Regions from separate parts of the Homo sapiens genome. Here region 2 is linked to region 1. The links are contacts of gene promoters, found by promoter capture Hi-C in human tissues and cell types (Jung and others, 2019). All regions are on one chromosome and are shown on one strand. The core of a region is centred on a gene start or on the middle of the fragment in contact, and the rest is flanking DNA. Distances in the headings are between cores, read along the strand shown. Region 1 holds the start of SNTA1 (syntrophin alpha 1). Region 2 overlaps ZNF341 (zinc finger protein 341).

Region 1 (6,610 bases), core at 1,568-4,067:
TGTTATATCCACAGGAAACTGTCCCCCAGAGGAGAAGCCCTCTCTTAGGGCTCTTTCTCAGTAAGTTTGTCTGGGCCTCATTAAGTCTTTTTTAAGCAGGGCAGTACGTGGGGGGACTTTTAAGGATCTGGTTCCAGGCTTTGGTCTTGGGAAAGGAGCTTCAATTCCCTGCTGGTCTCTTGCCTCCTGCCAGGTCTGTCCTCCCCTCCCTTCTCTACCATTGGAGTGAAGCTTCCACAAGCCAAGTAGGCTGTAGTTATTTATCACAAGTGCTTACCCCAAATTCCTCAGGCTGTCCTACAATCTTTAAGCACAGTCATACTTTTAAGATATCAATGCTTATATACAATGCTATATTCCTTCCCTGCCTCCCTTCTCTCCTTCCTTCCTCTCACTTTCTTTTATTTATTTTTGAGACAGGGTCTTGCTCTGTCACCCAGGCTGGAGTGCAGTGGCATGATTGTGGCTCACAGCAGCAGCCTCAAACAGGCCTCCTGCTGCAGCTTCCTAAGTAGCTGGGAGTACAGGTGCACATTACCACGCTTGGCTAATTTCTTTATTTTGTAGAGATGGAGTCTCGTGAAGTTGCCCAAGTGGTCTCAAACTCCTAGCCTCAAGTGATCATTCCTCCTCGGCATCCCATATATATATGTATAAAAGACCCTGGGTTCTTTTTTTAAAACCTGTGTCTCTCCTGTTTTGACACCTACCACTCTAACTTAAAACAATTCCTTTTTTTTGTTGTTGGTTTTTTTTTTTTTTTTTTTTGAGACGGAGTCTCACCCTATCACCCAGGCTGGAGTGCAGTGGTGCAATCTCTGCTTGCTGCAATCTCCGCCTCCCGGGTTCAAGTGATTCTCCTGCCTCAGCCTCCTGAGTAGCTGGGATTATAGGTGTCTGCCACCACGCCCGGCTAATTTTTTTATATTTTTAGTAGAGATGGGGTTTCACCATGTTGGCCAGGCTGAGTCTCAAACTCCTGACCTCGTGATCTACCTGCCTCGGCCTCCTAAAGTGCTGGGATTACAGGCATGAGCCACCATACCTGGCCCCCTCTTTTTTTTCTTGATGGTATCTTATGTGGAGGATTTTACCCAAAAGTTCAGGGAGGCTAAACACTGGTGTAGTCCTACTTATTTATTGCTCAACATATCCCAGCTAGGAATGGAGGATAGAGACAAGGAGCAGGTATGAAGGCCAGTTGAGCTGTGTGATGTGGTGGATTTTTCAGATTACAATCATGCTTTACCTCTGTATTTGTCAGCTGTCTAGCAGAGTGGTTCAGTGCCCAGGCACTGGTGTCAAACAGGCCTGGGTTTGAATCGCAGCTCTTCCTCACTCATAAATGTGTGACCTAGGCCAATTAGACTAAATCCAAGTTTTCCCTTCTGTATAATAGGGGTGCTCTTTTTTCTTGCTCTGTCACCAAGGCTGGAGTGTGATGGTGCAATCACAGCTCACTGCAGCCTGGACCTCCAAGGCTCAAGCGATCCTGCCACCTCAGCTGTGATTACAGGTGTGAGCCACTGTGCCCAGCTGGGGGTGCTCTTAGCTACTCCAGGAGGCTAATGTAAAGATAACACTTGGAAAATATTCTGCCAGCCCTAGGTAAGAGTAAGCATTCACTAAATGAAAGTGATTATTTCTATAGAATAGGGAGTCACAGTTTACCACGTGTTTTCACATTGATTTAATCCTCACACCAGCCCAGTGAAGTAGGTATTATTATGATCCACATTTTACAGATGAGGAAATTGAGGCCTAGAGCAGTGACGTGAGGGGACCAAAGTCGACTTGGAGCTAACAGAGGCAGCAAAGATTAGAAACCATGTCTCCAGTCGCCCAGACCCAGAGCCCCACCTTGCAACCCTCTTCCCACACACCAGTTCTGTTTTTTTTCTGCCAGGCCTCAAAGTGTGGGACTTCAGGCTTTTCTATACTCGACTGTGAACACAGCCAGGGGTTAATCTCTTAAACTTCCCTCCAGTTTTGAAGTGGGGATCCTGCCCACACCTCCCCCAAGCCCTAAGCGGTGTCGGTAGCGGTCTCCTCCAGGGGGCGGGGCCTGTCATCTTTAGAAGCCACGCCAGCGATAAGCCACGCCCACAGACCAAAGCCTCGACCCCCACCCCCCATCCCCCGCCCTCCCCGATAGGAAACCAACTTCTTCCTCAGCTCCCCAACTAGCAACTGTGCCCGCAAGGTCTCTCGCGGCTCAGCATCTACCTTTTTTTTTTTTTTTTTTTTTTGACACAGGGTTTCGCTCTGTCACCCAGGCTGGAGTGCAGTGGCGCGATCGCGGCTTACTGCAGCCTCGAGCTTCTGGGCTGTCATCTAGGCCTCCCAAAGTGTTGGGATTACAGGCGTGAGCCTCCACGCCCAGACGGTGTCTACCTCTTAAACTCAAGCCTTGGAGTCCAACGCTCTACCATACGCAGCCCAGCCCTCCGCCATATGCAGCCCAGCCCGATGCCCAGTGCTTCGCACCAGGATACGTGGTTCTGTCTCTTTTTCATGCGCTCCCACGTCCGGGAGTTACAGTCCCGGCCCTCGATGGGCATTCCGAGCGCCGAGCCCCCTGCGCGGGCTCACTGGGTTCCGCCCCCGACGCGAAGCCCCGCCCCCTGACGCCCCGCCCAGCACCACGCCTCCCGGGCTTTCGCCTTACTTAGTGGCCCGCCCCGCCGCCCTTCTGACCCACCCCGCTAGGTAGTCCCACACGGCGGCCCTCGGCTCCCGGGCCCCGCCCCGGCCTCCTGCATTTGCCCGAGGCCCCCTCCCCAGCACTGGCCACACCCCAGGGTAGCCCCGCCCCCAGAGCTCCTCCCCCAGCGGCCGGGGTAGGGTGGCGGCTGGCCCAGCCGGGCCCCCGCTGCCCTCTGCCCTGGGCGCTTGGTCGGAGCGGGCTGGGCAAAGCGGGACAGGGCGAGCGCGGCGGCCCGGGGGCTCGGAGGCGAAGATGGCGTCCGGCAGGCGCGCCCCGCGCACCGGGCTGCTGGAGCTGCGCGCCGGGGCGGGCTCGGGGGCCGGCGGCGAGCGATGGCAGCGGGTGCTGCTGAGTCTGGCGGAGGACGTGCTGACCGTGAGCCCCGCCGACGGCGACCCTGGTCCCGAGCCCGGCGCTCCGCGGGAGCAGGAGCCCGCGCAGCTCAACGGCGCCGCGGAGCCGGGCGCCGGGCCCCCGCAGCTGCCAGAGGCGCTACTGCTCCAGCGGCGCCGCGTGACGGTGCGCAAGGCCGACGCCGGTGGGCTGGGCATCAGCATCAAAGGTGGGCGCGGGACACCGAGGGCGCGGGGTCGTGGTGTCTGGGGGCAGCCGAGGGCGCAGGGGGCTGGCAGCGCGCCCAGGACATGGAGCTGGAGGCTTCCTGTCTGGGGGTAAGGGGGGTCTGAGGAAACAGGTAACGGAGGGCACTGGGCACACCAAGGTTGGAGGGGGTTTCAGTAGTTGGTGGCCTTAGGGGGCACGGAAGACACAGGTGTGGATAAGATTGTGGGAGCACCAAGGACACGTGGGTGGGAGTTCTGTGTGGAGGCGGGGGGGTCTGAGGGGTAACCAGCATGAACATCAAGGACAAGAGGGGTCCCCCGGAAAGCAGAGTGTGGAGAAAGGGGGTTGAGGCCGGGACACCAGTGGGACAGGGAGGAGGGAGTCCCTGAGAAGCAACCAAGGTGGGTGCAGAGGGGAAGCCTGGAGTCTGGGAAGCACAGGGGTGGATAGGAGGCCTGGGTGCAGGCACAGGCTGGGGTCACAGGCAGAAGGCCAGCAAGGACCTAGGAATCTAAGGACCCAGGAAGGCTGCAGGGAGCCCTGACAGCTGGATTTGGGTCTCCTGATCTGACTATCTCCACCTTGCACAGGATAGAGCTTTCAGCCCCCAGGACTGACCGCTAGTGGGGTGCAGTTAGGGTGCAACCAGACTGTGTTTGAATCCAGGATCAGCTGTGTGAGGTTGCAAAAGTCCCGTCCCGCCTCTGAATCTGTTTCCTCAACTGTATAAGAGGATGACAGAGTTGTGATGTTTCTGAGAGCAGGGCTCACCACACCAGCACACTGTAGGTGCCTAGTTAATTACTGCTGTTAGCGGAGAGGAAAAATGGAGGCCAGCAGATACTCCCAAAGCAACTAAACATAGTTGTTAAAATCCTTGCACACCCCCAGCTGCTGGGTTCACTATTCCTGCCCATCTGTTTCTCAGGGTCCCAGCCCCCAGCAGGTGCTTTGGGAAAGGGTATCAGCCTTTGTCTCCACCTTGAATACATACCGTACCCTCTGGGGTCTCCCTGGTACTGGTTCTGTTGACTAGTGCCTCCAGACCGTTTGGCTTGGCTGAGGCGGTGGGGATGGTGGTGAATGCCACCACTGTGTGCCAGGTGCTGTGCCCAGGACACTAGTCTCATGATCCACTTCATCCTGGCAACAAGTGGTGAAAGGTAGGGAGTATAATTCCCATATTGCAGGTGAAGAAACTGAGACTCAGAAAGTTAAAATGATTTTCCCACGATTACATAGTGAGTGTCAGTGCTGGGATTTGAACCTTAATTATCAGCTACTGTCCCTCAGAGAGTGCTCAGGGAAGTTGATTCTTTCCTGTAGAAGGGCAGATCCCCAGGCAGCCAACCAAGAGGGGCTAAAAAGGAGAAATGAGAAAATGAGGGTATGGGCACCAGTCTTACCCCCAATCTCCAGCATGGGATAGGGCAACAGATGAATCCAAAAATTATACACTCAGTGTGTCAAAGCAGGAAGGAACTTATTCATACAGAATTCCATTCTGCAGATGGACACACTGAGACTCAGAGAGGAGCAGGGACTTTGCAAGGTCACACAAAGTTACTCCCCAGCTCCATAATTCTAGGTGGAGGGGAGGGTACTTTTAGGAGACTTCAGGTATTTCCATTGGATCCAAATCTGGGCTCCTGTTGCCATGGTAACCCCTCCTATAAAGTCTAGCTTAGTCTGAGGCAGCCATGAGTGATCATAGCTTCAAACTGAACTGAAGCCCCTAGTTTCAGGTGGGGGAGGGCAGATATAAATAGAAACCCCTTCCTCTCCTAGACTTCAAGCTCTGTGCAGATAAGCAAACGGTCGGGCCTGTGTGGGCGTCAAGAGAGGTGTTCCAGTCCCAGCTCCGCCACCAGACTTGTGTGACCTTGGAACAATGACCTCCCACTCTGGGCCACTAATTCTTCATCTTCAGTATTCTGGGGATGAGCCAGGAGTGTGATATCTGAGGGCCTGACTTGTCGTCTGTGGTAGGGCTAATAGTGTTGGTTCTGGAGCCTGGAGGCCTAGGTGCAAATACTGGCTTCGCTACTTACTAGTGGAGTGACCTTGGACAAGGGGCTTCCCTCCACACTTCAGTTTCCCTAATAGGAAACTGAACATACCTATGTGATGGGGTATTGTAAAGACGCAATGAATCAACATTGAAAGCATTTAGCACAGTGCTTGGCATTTGGTAAGTGCAACTAAGGTGAACTCTTATTACTATTTCTTATTTTAAAAGGGCATTTAAGAGTTTGGTAATAAAGATGTTTAGTAAAATGTATTAGCTTCTTTTGTATCCAAGATGCCATTCAGGCAGGTTTTTAGAATCTCTAGACTCTAAGGCTTTGGTTTCCAGCCTGGACTTTGGATTGTAAAACATTATGATTGCTAAAGCAGTCTTTTGAGGCCATAGGAATAGCCGACTTGTCTCTTGATTCCGGTTTGAGGGGTATCAGTGGGTTCCCACATTGTTGCCTTTTTGTGTGTGTGTGTGAGACAGTCTTGCTCTGTTGCCCAGGGTGGAGTGCAGTGGTGCGATCTCGGCTCACTGCAATCTCCACCTCCTGGGTTCAAGCAGTTCTCGTGCCTCAGCCTCCTGAGTAGCTGGAATTATAGGCACACACCGCCATGCCTGGCTAATTTTTGTATTTTTGTTTTATTTTGAGATGGAGTCTTGTTCTGTCGCCCATGCTGGAGTGCAGTGGTGTGATCTTGGCTCACTGCAACCTCCACCTCCTGGGTTCAAGCAATTCTGCTGCCTCAGCCTCCTGAGTAGCTGGGACTACAGGCATGTGCCACCAGGCCCAGCTAATTTTTTGTGTTTGTATTTATTTATTTATTTATTTATTTTTTGAGATGGAGTTTCGCTCTTATTGCCCAGGCTGGAGTGCAATGGTGCAATCTTGGCTCATTGCAACCTCAGCCTCCCGGTTCAAGCAATTCTCCTGACTCAGCCTCCCGAGTAACTGGGATTACAGGCATGCGCCCCCATGCCCGGCTAATGTTTGTACTTTTAGAAGAGATGGGGTTTTGCCATGTTGGCCAGGCTGGTCTTGAACCCCTAACCTCAGGTGATCTGCCCATCTTGGCCTCCCAAAGTGCTGGGATTACAGGCGTGAGCCACCACGCCCAGCCATATTTTTTTATTTGTTTATTTTTTTATTATGTATTTATTTACTTTTTTGAGCAGAGTTTCACTTTTGTTGCCCAGGCTAGAGAGCAATGGCGTGATCTCAGCTCACTGCAACCTCCGCCTCCTGGGTCCAAGTGATTCTCCTGCCTCAGCCTCCCGAGTAGCTGGGATTACAGGCATCCGCTACCACGCCCAGTTAATTTTTT
Region 2 (6,763 bases), core at 1,461-3,960, 340 kb before region 1:
CTGGCTCCTCCCTCTGCGCCTTTGTACTTGCCATTCTCCTCTGCCTGGAACAGCTGCTCACTCTCTGCACCTTGGCTCGCTTTGCCAGGTCATCTCAGGCTCAGGGAGGGGCCGTGACGCCTGAGGCCACCCACAGGAACATGGCAGCACTAAGACTCCAACCCAGCCCTGTGTGTCCAAGTCATTGACCTACTCTCCCAGTTTTCACACTTTCTTTAGTGACTGACTCCTTTCTGTAAACCTTCTCAAACAAGGGAGACTTTACCCCCCAGAGGACTCAGCAATGCCTAGAGACATTTTTGGTTGTCACAACTGTGGGGGGATGCCACTGACACCAGTAGATAGAAGCCAGGGATACTGCTAAAAATCCTACAGGGCACAGGACAGCCCCCAGGACAAAATTATCTACAGGATTACAGGCCAGGCGCCGGTGGCTCACACCTGTAATCCCAGCACCTTGGGAGGCCAAGGCGGGCAGATCACTTGAGGTCAGGAGTTCGACACCAGCCTAGCCAACATGGTGAAAACCCCATGTCTACTAAAAATACAAAAATTAGCTGGGTGTGGTGGCAGGCACCTGTAATCCCAACTACTTGGGAAGCTGAGGCAAGAGAATCGCTTGAACCTGGGAGGCAGAGGTTGCAATGAGCCAAGATCACACCACTGCACTCCACCTGGGTGACAGAGGGAGGCTCCGTCTCAAAAAAAAAAAAAAAAAATTATCTGGCCCAAATTGTCAATGGTGCCAGGGTTGAAGAACCTTGTTTTAGACCTCGGCTGGCATGTGGAAAGCCAGCCAGGCTGCTCTGAGGAGGCGCTGAGAAACTGAGGAGTGGCTTGGAGACCCCTGCCCTGCCCTATCAAAGAAGCTTCCTGGCCATGTCTTGGACCTGGCTGGAATCTGATTCCCTCCACACCTCGTCCACACCTCTATTACACTGGGCACTGCTCCAACTGAGTCATCTCTGCTCAGGTCAGCTTCCTCCTTGGACTGGGGGACTGTGTCTGATTCATCTCTGTTCACCCTTAAGTCCCTAACACAGGCCTGGCTCATAGCCCACATAAGTGAAAGTGCTGGCTGGAATGTGCCAGGCAGGGAAAACAAGCCTCACAGGATATGTCTGCTCTTTCTCTTCCTGGCGGGTCTATCCCAGTGAACTAGAGCTGAACCAGACCCTCTTAGCAGGCCCAAGAGCCACTTACCAGAGTGGGAGAGGATGTGGGCCTTCAGCTTGTCCGGCCGGTTGAACTCCTTACTGCAGCCTGTGTGCGTCCTAAAACCCAAAGCCACTGGTCAGGGGGAGCTCACCAAGCTTAGGATCCTCTTGCTGGCCCCTCCACTAGCCCTGGGCACAAGGGACAGCCTTGTCCACCCTAAGGGCTGGGCAAGGAGGTAGGGTGGGAAGTGAGGCAGGCAGGGCCCAGGACAGGATAAAAGGAGAGAGGCCTGGCCAGGCACAGTGGCTCACGCCTGTAATCTCAGCACTTTGGGAGGCCGAGGTGGATGGATCACTTGCGGTCAGGAGCTCGAGACCAGCCTAGGCAACATGGCGAAACTCCATCTCTACTAAATCTGTAATCTCAGCTACTTGGGAAGCCGAGGCAAGAGAATCGCTTGAACCCAGAAGGCAGAGGTTGCAGTGAGACAAGATCTTACCACTGCACTCCAGCCTGGATGACAGAGTGAGACTATGTCTCCAAAAAAAAAAAAAAGGAGAGGCCTGCCCTCAGGCCTGACATCTGTCCCACCCTCCCCAGCAGCACCCCTGGAGAATCTGTCCCGCTACCCACCCCCCTGCATGGCAGTCTCTACTCACGAGAAAGGGCATTTGTATTTCTTGAAGGGCTCGTGGATCAACATGTGTCTCTTCAGTTTGTCCTTGCGGTTGAACGCAGACTCGCACACTGAGCATTTGTAGGGCTTCTCACCTGCAGCAGACACAGACAGGGAGAGCCAGCACTCACCAGGAGTCGGCATCCAGGGCACAAGGGTCCCCGCTGGGCCCCTCAGGGGAGCAGCTCCTCTAGGGAGGTGGCCAGGGGAGAAAATAGCCTCTCTCATTCTTCAGTGGCTTTGTTTTGCCAGAGACAAGACAGGGCTATTTTGACAGGATGGTCAGGAGAGGCCTCTCTGATGAGGCCATGCATGAGGAGAGACCTCAGGTCATCAGGGAGATGGTCTGGGCAGCAGGGAAAGCAGGTACAAAGGCCCTGAGGCAGGAGTGCGTTTGGCGGTGCTGATGAACAACAGGGAGGCTGGTGTGGCCAGAGAACAAGGCAGAAGGTGAGGGCAGCGAGCCAGCCAGGTCCGCATGGGAGGACCTGGGAGGCAGAGCTAAGGACTTGGCTTTTATTTATTTATTTTTTTTGAGACAGAGCCTTGCTCTGTCACCCAGGCTGGAGTGCAGTGGCAAGATTTCAGGTGAGTCACTGCAACCTCTGCCTTCTGGGTTCAAGCAATCCTCCTACCTCAGCCTCCTGAGTAGATGGGATTACAGGTGTGTGCCACCACGCCCAGCTAATTTTTGTATTTTTAGTAGAGATGGGGGGTTTCACCATGTTGGCCAGGCTGGTCTCGAACTCCTGACCTCAAGTGATCCACCTGCCTTGGCCTCCCAAAGTGCTGGGATTACAGGCATGAGCCACCGCGCCCAGCCAGGACTTTGGCTTTTACTCTGAGCCAGAAGAGAAGCACCAGAAGGTCTGAACAGCAGAGGGATGGACTCTGATGTAAGCTTTTAACCAGCTCGAATGAGGGTGGAGGTGAGGATAACCAGGAAGTGGCCCAGGACAGCCATGTTGGGAAGGCACAGTCGGCAGCCCTTGCCACTGGACTGGCTGTGACTGTGAGAGGAGGAGAGGAGTCAAGGATGAGGCACGGCCTGAGAAGCAAGGTGGCCTCATGTCATTTCTGGCAATGCGGTCCACCCTGGGGGACGAGGAATCACACCTTATCTAACTGAATCCTTCCAAAAAACCAGGAGGCACTGACTCCCATCATCCCTGTTTCACAGATAAGAAAGAAGACTGAAGTTCAGAGAGGTGAAGGGACTGGCTCAGGGGCTACCCCTATGGTTGCGGGAGCTAAGATTCCAGCCCAGCAGCGTGATCCAGAGCCCATCTGAGCTACCCAGATCTTCCTGCTGTTAAACCCGTCCTGGGGCAGCTCTTGCCTGATGGGCTACCTGAGGAACCCACAGGAAATCAAGGGAGGTGCCTGCAAAGTTGCCGTGGGGTCACAGCCTGCCCTTTGGAAGGGGCTGTTTCTGGGCTGCTGTGACTTCCTGCCATTATTTCCTCTCTGTTCTCCCTCTGGAATGAATAAAGTACTTCTGAAAAACCATCAACCCAGTCGATACGGAAATGCTGGTCCCTACAATAGAATGCTCTGTGGTCATTAAAAAGATTAAAAAGGTCAATCTGTGTTTCCTGATCTGGAAAGATCTCCTGGACATACTGCTAGTGGGGAAAGAAAGCAGTAGAACAGCTTAACACAATCTCGTCTTTCTTAGAAAAAAATATAATCCCTACTGGATATGTAAGCTCCAACAAAAAAAAAAGAAAGAAAAAATACAACCTGCACACCCCAAAAAAGCCCTGGCCATGTGTCTCTGTAAATAAACTGAAGATGCAGGAAGAAAGATGGGGAGGTGTAGGGAAAGGACAGACCAAAGTGTCAGTGGCAACTACAACTTGAAGGGGAAATTTAACATTTTACTTTATGTACTCCTATATTGTTTCCATTTTTATAATAACCATGTATTATTTGTGTGGTTTTTTTTGTTTTGTTTTGTTTCGTTTTTTGTATTTTTTTTTTTTTTTTTGAAACAGAGTCTTGCTCTGTTGCCCAGGCTGGAGTGCAGTGGTTTGATCTTGGCTCACTGCAACCTCCATCTCCTGGGTTCAGGCAATTCTCCTGCCTCAGCCTCCTGAGTAGCTGGGATCACAGGTGCGTACCACCACACCCGGCTAATTTTTGTATTTTTAGTAGAGACGGGGTTTCATCACGTTGGCCAGGCTGGTCTCAAACTCTTGACCTAGGTGCTCCACCCACCTTCACCTTCCAAAGTGCTGAGATTACAGGCATGAGCCACCGCGCCTGGCAGCATGTATTACTTTTGAATAATAATTTTTAAAAGCCATAAAGAGCAATTTGGTAATATCAAACTTACAATGCATTACTTCTTTTCCCTTCTTTATTGTGGAGAAATATACATAACAGAAAATTGACCATCTTAAGCTTCTTTTAAGTGTATAGTTCAGTGGCATAAGTACATTTGCACCATCATGCAACCATCACCATCATCTGTCTCTAGAATTTTTTCATCATCCCAAACTGAAACTCAGTATTACACATGCATTTTAACCTAGCATTTCCACTCCTAAGAATATACACTACAGATACACTTCCAAAAGCTTGCCAAGGGACCCACACAGCATTGTGTGTACAAACTAATAGCTGAAATGTAATTTAACGGTTCATACATAGGCTGGGCGTGATGGCTCATGCCTGTAATCCCAGCACTTTGGGAGGCTGGGGCGGGGGGATCACTTGAGGTCAGGAGTTCGAGACCAGCCTGGCCAACATGGTGAAACCACATATCTACTAAAAATACAAAAATTAGCTGGGCGTGATGGTGCACACCTGTAATCCCAGCTACTTGGAAGGCTAAGGCAGGAGAATTGCTTGAACTCAGGCGGCAGAGGTTGCAGTGAACCAAGATCGTGCCATTCAGTCTCAAAAAAAAAAAAAAAAAAAAAAAAGGTTCATACATAGAGAACTGGCTAAATACAAGATGAAAAATTCATTGAGGAAGACTACTCAGATGTGAAAAAGAAGGTGCTGTTGGTAACAACTTCTGGGGGGGGCCCGGGGGAGGGGGACCCACAGAATTTAGCCTCCAGGGGAACTGTAAGCACACATTCCTTGGGGAACATCGCCAAGGTATATGATAAGGAAAAAAAGGCACATAAGTTATAGTATGTGCTCATTTTTGCAAACGTAAGCAAGCGTTTTATATATGTGTAAAATAAAACTAGAAGAATGCAGACTAGACCGCTAACAGTTACCTTTGGGGAAGAGAATTAGGAGTATTTTGCAAACTGCAAACCACAAGTTACACCCTGTTGGTGGTTATTTTAAGAATTAAAAATAGGCTGGGTGTGGTGGCTTGCATCTGTAATCCCAGCACTTTGAGAGGCCAAGGTGGGTGGGTAACCTGAGGCCAGGAGTTTGAGACCATCTTGGCCAACATGGTGAAACCCCGTCTCTACTGAAAATACAGAAATTAGCCAGGCATGTGGTGGGCGCCTGTAATCCCAGCTACTCGGGAGGCTGAGGCACGAGAATGGCTTGAACCTGGGAGGCGGAGGTTGTAGTGAGATCATACCATTGCACTCCAGCCTGGGTGACAGAGTGAGACCCTGTCTCAAAATAAAAATAAAAAATAAAAAAACTAAAATTGAAAAGGACAAAATAGAAAACACTGTTTTGTAAAACTTTTGTTGCAATACATCCTATGTGTGCTTCCTGGGTTGCAATATGAAATGTATTTTTTACCATAGGTCGTAGGAAAGAAAAAAAAGGAAAAACATTGGATTGTCCATCTGAAGTGAGAGGGAGTTTATTTTTTTATATATGCTTTTGTCCCGTCAAGGATTTTCCCTCAAGTTTTCTCAATCTTTAGATCCTTTTCAATTAAAAAGCAATTAAAAAATTTAACTAATAAAAAAATCTAAAGATTAATAGAAAAGAAAATGTCAGTGTGTTTCAACTGGGGAACCAAGGAGATGGCGTTTTGTTCAGGTTTGAGTGGGAACTTACAGTGAGAGCAGTGTCCCCACCACAGGGGGCAGAGTCAAGAGTCCCTCACACAGGCTGGGTGCAGTGCCTCACGCCTGTCATCCCAGCACTTTGGGAGGCCGAGGCAGGAGGATCACCTGAGGTCAGGAGTTCGAAACCAGCCTGGCCAACATGGCAAAACCCTGTTTCTACTAAAAATACAAAAAACTAGCTGGACATGGTGGTGGGAGCCTGTAATCCCAGCTACTCAGGAGGCTGAGGCAGGAGAATCACTTGAACCCGGGAGGCAGAGGTTGCAGTGAGCCAAGATCTGCCACCGCACTCCAGCCTGGGCAACAAGAGCGAGACTTTGTCTCAAAGAAAAAAAAAAAAAGAATAAAAAGTCCCTTCCACACAACCTCCAGGGGCTCTTCTCTGCTTTAGCGGTGGTGGGAATCCCTTGTTCATGAATTAAGGCAGGTGGATCAGGGGCCAGGAAGGAGAGAGGAAGGAGGAGCAAGGGGAGAGGCAGGAGGGCTGGAGGGAGACAGACAGCGACAGAGAGGAGGGGGAGGGGGCTGGAGGGAGAGGGGAGAGGACAGGGGAGGGAGGCTGGAGGGGGCTAGAAGGAGATGGGGAGAGGGAGGGGAAGGGAGGCTAGAGGGAGATGGGAAGGAGGAGGGAGAAGGGGGCTGCAGGGAGATGGGGAAGAAGAGGGAGATGGGGAGGGTGAGGGAGATGGGGGGGAGAGAGATGGAGAGAGGGAGGGAGATGGGGGAGGGGGAAGGAGATGGGGAGAGGGAGGGAGGTGAGGAGGCGGAGGGAGGGGGGAGGGAGAGGAGTAGGGAGAGGGAGAGGGGAAAGGAAATGGGGAAGAGGAGGGAGAAGGGTGCTGGAGGGAGATGGGGAGGAGGAAGGAGATGGGGAGGAGGAGGGAGATGGGGAGGAGGAGGGAGACGGGGGCTGAGAGAGATGAGGGGA

What was found. Contacts are between HindIII fragments. The study calls those that stand out against the background at their distance.
Region 2: a contact is called between a fragment that was not itself captured here and the fragment with the promoter of SNTA1 in region 1, in 1 of the 25 tissues and cell types used here (H1 embryonic stem cells).

What each region holds. Positions count from the first base shown.
Region 1 is chr20:33,439,970-33,446,579 of GRCh38, reverse strand. SNTA1 (syntrophin alpha 1) reads left to right here and starts at 2,817. Exons shown (of 8, transcript NM_003098.3): 1 at 2,817-3,269. The coding sequence starts at 2,960. RefSeq lists enhancers at 1,812-1,871, 1,843-2,343, 2,322-2,391 and silencers at 2,622-3,101, 3,212-3,271, 6,282-6,460. The HindIII fragment of the contact is 21,074 bases long and covers 1-6,610 here.
Region 2 is chr20:33,784,029-33,790,791 of GRCh38, reverse strand. ZNF341 (zinc finger protein 341) reads right to left here. Exons shown (of 15, transcript NM_001282933.2): 13 at 1,818-1,929; 14 at 1,204-1,274. It overlaps ZNF341-AS1 (ZNF341 antisense RNA 1), which reads left to right. Exons shown (of 4, transcript NR_110623.1): 4 at 3,015-3,419. Among named protein-coding and RNA genes, the nearest start is that of ZNF341-AS1, 24 kb to the left of the region's middle. RefSeq lists a silencer at 5,066-5,115. The HindIII fragment of the contact is 3,237 bases long and covers 1,092-4,328 here.